2 separate regions of the Homo sapiens genome follow, and region 2 is linked to region 1. Evidence: promoter capture Hi-C in human tissues and cell types (Jung and others, 2019). All regions are on one chromosome and are shown on one strand. Each heading gives the region's core, a stretch centred on a gene start or on the middle of the fragment in contact. The rest is flanking DNA. Distances are from core to core; before and after follow the strand shown.

What was found. Contacts are between HindIII fragments. The study calls those that stand out against the background at their distance.
Region 2: a fragment that was not itself captured here is called in contact with the fragment with the promoter of MCOLN3 in region 1 in 1 of the 25 tissues and cell types used here (H1 embryonic stem cells).

Annotation. Positions count from the first base shown.
Region 1 is chr1:85,046,773-85,050,852 of GRCh38, forward strand. MCOLN3 (mucolipin TRP cation channel 3) reads right to left here and starts at 1,728. Exons shown (of 13, transcript NM_018298.11): 1 at 1,624-1,728. RefSeq lists silencers at 1,210-1,959, 1,990-2,129. The HindIII fragment of the contact is 9,392 bases long and covers 1-4,080 here.
Region 2 is chr1:84,647,824-84,651,903 of GRCh38, forward strand. It overlaps SSX2IP (SSX family member 2 interacting protein), which reads right to left. Exons shown (of 14, transcript NM_001166293.2): 12 at 4,060-4,080; 13 at 2,539-2,704. Among named protein-coding and RNA genes, the nearest start is that of LINC01555, 15 kb to the left of the region's middle. The HindIII fragment of the contact is 3,856 bases long and covers 190-4,045 here.

The DNA.
Region 1 (4,080 bases), core at 478-2,977:
CTGCTGGATGAATAAACCATAAAACATATTTACTGTATGGCAAATGCAGTACCTTCAAAATGAAATAATTATTATATAACTCATTAAAGTGTGGCTCCTGTGTGCGTGTTAAAATGCCTGTCAAAGCATAAATGCAGTAATTCTTAGGTAAAGGCATAAAGGAAAGAAAAAGTTATTAATAAATTAGGATTTTCACTTAACAGTTTTACTTCCTTCAAAAAGGCAGGATATTTTAACCAGCATTTAAGGAGACTTTATCTATAGGACTTAAAACGCAGATGATTTCATGTTGACCAAAGCTCGCATATGAACACCAACATAATGATGAAGCTGTTAATAAGCATGTTGGTGAGTTGTATATTGACACTAAGCGCTTTCCACTTTGATACAGGGAAAATTAAATTTTAAACAAACTAGCCACACACCATGTACAGTAATCCACAGGAACAAAGAGAAAACAAGCCAACCAGCATATATTCAGCACATCACAACGAGTTGTCCCGGTAGACATTTCATTCACCAGGACCAGATGCTGACCTTGGAAAAGTCAGGTTTACCCAGTCTGAAAAGCCCTTCCGAGGGTGCACTTTTAAAAACTGCAAACTGTCGGGAACCCCAGCAGCTGAAGGAGGTATTCGCAGCCAGCCACCCTTGACATTCACCCGGAGCGCCGGCGCGGGAGGCAGGGTGGGCGAAGGACCCCATCAGGAGAGGCTACCCGACGAAGGGGCCATCCGGAGAGGCTACCGAAGTATCTATCAGGCATGCTCTTAGAAGGAGCAAACGGACACACACAGGTTACCTGTTCCTGGCGGGCAGAGGCTTGATTGGAGTAAGCTGTAGAAAATTGGAGAAAGCCCGGGAGTGTATAAATAGCAAAGGCCTCCCAGTTGGCGACAAAGTTATGCAACCTCGTTTTTTCAGAAGCGCTTTCCCACTTCACCAGACACAAAACTTTAGTCTCTCCAGTCTTCTTTTTTTTTCAAACAAACAAACAACAAGGGTTGACACTTTTGTTGGGTAGTGTGTGCGAGAAAGATCTGCAGGGTTGCAGCGATGTCCCAGAGCGGTCGCTGCCATCCCCGGGCACTGCCGTGGAGCTCAGACGGCCGCAGCCCGGCTGGCGGCTGCTTTCAGCCAGCGCAGCGACCCGGGCCTGAGCCCCCACTTCCAGCCGCCCCCACCTCTAACAGGGGGACAGTCCGCCTTGAAAGGGGCCAGCCGAGCCGCGTCAAGGCCATCTGGAGCCCCGGCCGGCATCCAAGCCTTCCAGCCCAGGGGCTCCGGGCGGGGGTGGCTTCCAGCCCTCTGAGCCCTGGCCACAGGTGGGCGGCGGCCTGGAGGGGGACCGAGGAGCAGAGCACCCCCACCCGCCCAGCCCCGGGCAGGCCCGGCAGGCGCGCTCCTCCACTGACCTGCGGGCGGCTTGGGGGCGGCGCGGAACAGCTGCATCTCGCGCCCAGCTCCAGCCCGCCTGCCCTCCATGGCGCCGACTGCCCGGCCCGGCCTTCCCGCGGCGTCCCCGACAGCTCGCTGCCTCCCGGCCTCCCCGGCCCTCCCTGTGCGCCGCGGGCGCCGTTCCCGCGACACCCGACGCCCCGGGGCAGCGCCCCGCGGGCTCACCTGGGGGACAGCGGGGAGCGGCCGCAGCTCCGGTGTCCGCGGCGAGGGCGCAGGGCGAGTCAGCGAGCGACTCCAGCAGCCTCGAGCCCCGCTCCGCCCAGAGTCAGACGGGAGGAGAGCGCCCCGTCCGCCGCCCGCGCATCCTCCCGCCCCCGCCGCTTTAACTCGTGACCCTACTCCCGGCTCGGGTTCCCGCCGCGCCCTGTCGGGGGCCGCTTTTCAGGAGCACAGGTGGGACGCAGGAGGCCGTCCGGAGGAAGCCGGCGTTGTGCCCGTTCCCTGCCACCCCCACCCTATCACTCCCTTCATTTTCTCCCTGAGCAACCCGCACCGCCCTGCTCGGGTTTGCCAGGTTTGCTCCGGAGCTGCCGCCGGCGCCGGGGGGCCACCCCCTCCTGGCCAAGGCCCCTCAGGTGGTTGCCGGGCTCCGCGGGTGCGGGATCTATAGCGCCTAGCTCCGGTGAGTGTGAGGCCCCGCTGCAGCCTCCCATTCTGATTTTTGCATACAAGGTGAAATCTTGAATGTCTTAGCGTTTCAAGCCTGAACCTTGTTCCCTCCCTGGGTCTTCTAGTTTCAGACAAGTGCTGTGAAATGAGTGGACAGTCGACTAGACTCTTCTGTAGATTGGCGGCTGGGGCAGAAAGAGCCCTGGGAAACTTTTCCAAGAAATGTAAATAGAAATACCTGAAGTAGACTTTGAACCGTAATCTTTTTCTTCATAAATTATCTGTAAATATTAAACCTAATACCCCTTATCAGGATTGGATCAGGAACTTTGGTTAATTTTAATTATAATTACTTTGGATGTGTTCTGATTTTTAATTTTTACTTATTTTTTTTTTTTGGCCACGGGTAAATTTGTAAAGGTCACTGAATTTCCCTACTAGGGTATTCCTGAAATTAGATCGATACCTAGCAAACCTTTTATAAAACCTGTTTTCAAATCCTAAACCAGTATGCATGGATTACTAATAAATTTTTGCAACAGGGTACAAGAATTTTATGCTGTTCCTCAACCTGGATCCCACATACTGTGAACAAGGTAGATACCCAGAAAGGATATAATTGGCACAGTCAATTCTCAAGTGCAATTTGGAAAATATAATGTAATCTTTAATCCCCATATGCCTACACACGATGTAACGCTATCTCCTTACTTGATGGTAAGAGTTTGAAATGCTTGATTGTTCAGGAACAATCTGAACTTTGAAGAGGTTCACAGTCATAAATGATGGCACTTGCTTAACCCTCGTTTTAGCTGAGTTATAAGGACCGGTGAATAGATAAAGCCAGGTTTTGGAGTCAGACAGATGAGGGCCCAAATTCCCTTCTGTGCCACTTATTGGTCTCTAGGGAGTTACTTACCTTCTCTGAACCCCTTTTCTTTTTTATGTGCAATCTGTGAAGTTAGCCGAGAGAAAGGACGAGAGAGAGAGAGAGAGAGGGAGAGAGAGACCGAGAGAGACCGAGACCCAAGTTCAGGCAAGCCTTTATTCAACCTGCCGGCTGCTCCATTACAGACAGAGGAGGCAGCCCTGAGCTTACAAAATGAGGGTTTTATGTGGGGGAGAGAGACCCTGGAGTTGTTTGTTGGTTAACTCTGCCACATATCACCTTGTGACGTTTATGGTACCGGAGGGTGTAGGTAAAGTTTGTTTATACTTCCCACGACCTCCCACTGTGCAGTCCGGATGGTTTGTAATTGGGTTTGCTTTATAGCAGCAAGACCTGATAGGTAAAAGTCTCCTGGCTTCACCGCGGTGCCTAGATAGGGGCTTAGAAATGTAAAAAGGTTTGGGGGAAGAGGAGGGGTGGTACGGAGAGGTTTGCGGGGGTGGGGGGCGGGGGTGTTGGCAGTACCAAGAAGCTTTTTTGGGGTAGCTTGTCCCTAACACAATCTAGCTAATAAAAGGAATGGTGATTTTTAATTAATATGATACATGTAAAGCACCCATTACTATATGAGGCATATGTGATGTGCTTATAAATGCTGATTCCCCCTTTTATTTGGAAAACTTAATGAAAATATCAACCATGTTCATAAATTACAAGACTCAGTATTATTAAGATGTCAGTTTTCACCAAGTTCATTTATAGATTCAACCCAATCTCAATGAAAATTCTAGCAAACTGTTTTGTAGAAATTGACAACCTGATTCTAAAATTCCTATGGAAGCAAATGCAAAGAATCCAGAATAACCAAAGCAATTTTTTAAAAGAAAGATAAAACTGGAGGATTTATCCTACCTATATCTATAAAGCTATTTAAGCTAAACAACTTGGTACTGGTGAAGACAGACATATAGACTACACATAGGCAATGGAACAAAATAGAATCCAGAAATAGATTCACACATATATGGTCAATTGATTTCTGACAAAGATGTTAAAACAATGTAAAGGGGAATATTAAACCTTAACAATCAACATAATGATGTTACTGGCTTAAAGGAATA
Region 2 (4,080 bases), core at 868-3,367, 400 kb before region 1:
CTGCTTGAGCCCAGGAATTCAGGACTAGCCTGAGTAACATGGTGAAACCCTGTCTCTACAAAAAATTAGCTGGGAGTAGTAGTGCATGCCTAGTTTAATCATTTGTACAAGGGATTCTGATGACCAAATTACTATAAATTTATTTACCAATACTTATAGTAATTCGGTCATCAGAATCCCTGTACAAATGATCAAACTAAGTTTTTTAGGTAACTTACGCACAAGTCTCCTTGCCTGGAATCTAAGGCACAGCCTTTATATAAAATTCCATTCTACAGTGAAGGAACAATGAGGATGTTGTAGAAATTAGCTACAAATACTCCTAATTATTTTGTTGCAATATTAATATAAACCGAGATCCAAAATGCTTCAGGAGCAAGAGAACCAAGTTTATCAAATAATTTAAAATGTGAAGAACCAAGTCAGGCTGCACAGCTTCTCTATTAGTTATAAAACTTTTTTCTGTTTGTTTTATTCTTAGAGGCTAGTTAACAATGAATACCTTGAATTTCTTTAAGCTCCAAAATTGTTTCTATGCCACGGATGTTGTTTAGTGGAGCACTCAGAAACAAAAAAAGCATGTTTATATTTGTTTACATATATTTTTATTTTTATAGTCTGTCACTAAATGTTTTTAAGTGCTTTACATACATTAACATTTAACTTGCAACACCCTATGATTTAGGTACTAAATGCTGAACTTTATTAAACATAAAACAATGTCTTCAAGAAATGTTTATGTCAAATATTTCACAACTAAAAATGATGTAAAAAGCTAAATATTTAAAATATATAAAAACAATTGAGACAACTATGTTATGCTATCTCTTAGATATAAAATGCATTATTTGTGAATGGTGGCTAGAATTTGTGTCTATATCTATACAGATAGTTCTGACTGGTCAAATTTAGAAGTTTGAATAACATTCTATGTAAGAAAATACTATAAGCTTACACATTATCTTTTGATTGTAAAATAAATAAACTTTCACTTCCCATATTCAACTCATCTACTGGTCTAACTTCAAAATAGATCCCAAATCCAAGCATTTCTTCCTTCATATTATGACCCTAGTCCAATTACCATTGTCTTTCGTTTCCACTCCAATAGTGCCTCCTAACTGGATTTCCTGGTTTATATTACAGACTCCTACAATCTGTTTTCAATATTATAAAACAGTAATCTTTTTAAAACTTAAGACTTTTTTTCACTCTCTTGCTTAAAACTAGTGTTTTTTCTATTCCCCTTAGAACAATATTTGACCTGCAAATGCACACTAAAATATTCTGTAAATGAAATCCCAGATGTGTTGGGGCTGGGGTGGAGAGAGCAAGCAGAGTGGGATTATATATGAACAATATTGATCAGAGTTAATAATTGCTGAACCTGAGTCATAGGTACACGTGGGTTCACGATCTTATCCTCTCTGTATATTTGAACTTTTACATCTCTCCATCCTCATCTCACACCTCTAGGTCTTGGTCACCATTGCAAATGTATGAGGTGTGTCCCACCCTCAGGGTTCCTACACTTGGCTAGAGTGCTCTTACCTAGCTCTTTTTCATCCCCTCTAACATTTACTTGGAGTCCTAATCCCCCCACCTCTTAAAAGTCAACTACAACTTATAGTGTGTTCTCCTCCTTCTTTTAAAAGCTTCCTTTCTTGTTTTAAACTCCATCTATTTCATAATTCTTGGCCCAAGGGCCAGCTGGCTTCTTCGACACTTAGTTCCACTCCAGTCTCTAACACAGGCCGAGTTTGCTTCAGCTCTGACTGTTTTCCAAGGCCATTATCTCCTACTTTTAATTAAGAGCAAAGAGATTACCACCATACTTTCCAACTTACCCCTCTGATCTTTTCTATTCCTCTCTGTCTTACTAGGAATGTTCTACCTGCTTCCTCTTCTTCGTTTAAAACTAATCTTGGAATTGGCACTGAAGCAGAGTATTGATCTTATCTTAGAAAATGATATAATAACTTGAGATACAGGAAAACACCAAAATGTAGCAATTAAGAGCAACATATGGGTTTCCCAGGGTGGAGAGCCATGTTTTTTTACACTGTCATCCTTGGGCACAAATCTTTTTCACTCAACAGGAACAGGCTTTTCTCAGTTCTTTGCCCTTCAACAACAATAAAATGGGCATGCCGGAAAAAAGTGTTAAGATATGTACTCTACAAAAACTGTCAAAACAATATCCTTCCATTTAATACAATTAAAGTGCTTAAAATATTAACTCCTATAATTAAGACTACATTCTAAATTGTATCTTAAATGTGAAATAAAAAGACACACATCATATGATTTACCTCCAAGAAGACAACAGATCTACCTGTTCACTAGTGTATTTCCAGCATCTAGCACAGTGTCTATATATACTGGACACTCAATATTTGTAGAATGAATAAATCATCTACTAAATTCCTCTCCAAAATCTCTATTGTTGCTAATACTACAGACATGCCACCTTTCCCTTAGCAGTGCAACTTTAGCAATTTTTAGAAACACGTGAAAAGATCACCTATAGACAAATACCTATGTTCAGATATGCAGGAACGTGTCTGGCAAAAGTCTGAAGTGGAAGGTGAAGCAGGAAGAGATTTAGTAAGTTTAGACATGCAAACTGGAGACCCATTAGACACACTGTGAGGCTTCTTTTGCGGCTGCCTCGAGTGCACTATAAGATTGTCCCAATCAGAACCTGTTGTAAAACAAGTAAGAGAAAAAGGCAGTACATATGGTGAGGCATTAAATATAGTGAAGGTAAATCATCAGGATGATTCATCTGCGGTTCTGAGTGAGGAAAGAGATGGAACAAATTCAAATTAATTATCATTAATCTTGCTTATCTTTGTTGCATAGTCCACCCATGTTTAAAAGGATCTTTTTTTTTTTTGAGATGGAGTCTTGCTCTGTCACCCAGGCTGGAGTGCAGTGATGCGATCTTGCCTCACTGCAAGCTCCACCTCCTGGGTTCACGCCATTCTCCTTCCTCAGCCTCCCGAGTAGCTGGGACTACAGGGGCCCGCCACCATGCCTGGCTAATTTTTTTGTATTTTTAGTACAGACGGGGTTTCACTGTGTTAGCCAGGATGGTCTCGATCTCCTGACTTCGTGATCCACCTGCCTCGGCCTCCCAAAGTGCTGGGATTACAGGCGTGAGCCACCGTGCCCAGCCAAAAGGATCTAGTTTTAAAAATATTTCTAGGCTGGGTGGGGTGGCTCACACCTGTAATCCTAGCACTTTGGGAAGGTGAGGCGGAATGACTGCTTAAGCCAGGAGTTTGAGACCAGCCTGGGTAGTATAGCGAGGGCTTGTCTCTACAAAAAAGTTTTTAAAATTATCTGGGTATGGTGGTGTGTGCCTATAGTCTCAGCTACTCAGGAGGCTGAGGCAAGGAGGATTGCCTGAGCCCAGGACGCTGAGGCTGCAGAGAGCCGAGATGCACTCCAGCCTGGGTGACAGAGCAAGACTACATCTTGAAAAAAGAAATTCTCAATGTAAATTTTCAAAAACTTCGCATTATTACAAACTCACAACAAAAGTTACTTTGGGCATGCACAGTCCCCCTCTCATCCTCACTTTCACTACAGTAAATAAAATATTAAAGTTGATTTTTAGGCCAGGCGCAGTGGCTCATGCCTAATCCCAGCACTTTGGGAGGCTGAGATGGGTGGATCACCTGAGGTCAGGAGTTCAAGAACAGCCTGGCCAATATGGTAAAAACCCGTCTCTACTAAAAATACAAAAATTAGCCAGGCGTGGTGGCACATGCCTGTAATCCCAGCTACTCAGGAGGCTGAGACAAGATAATCGCGTGAAGCTGGGAGGCAGAGGTTGCAGTCAGCCAAGGTCACGTCACTGCACTCCAACCTGGGCGACAGAGCAAGACTCCGTCTCAAAAACAAACAAAAAAAAGTTGACTTTTAGTTATAATTAGAGAGCTCTAATTGGTGATTTCCAAAGTTTTGTATTAATAATATGTAGTATTTTGTAATATGTAAATAATTTTATTTATATGCATGTTCAAATTAAAGAGTTTATAAAGTACTCACTTCCTGAGAAGGCACTGAAAA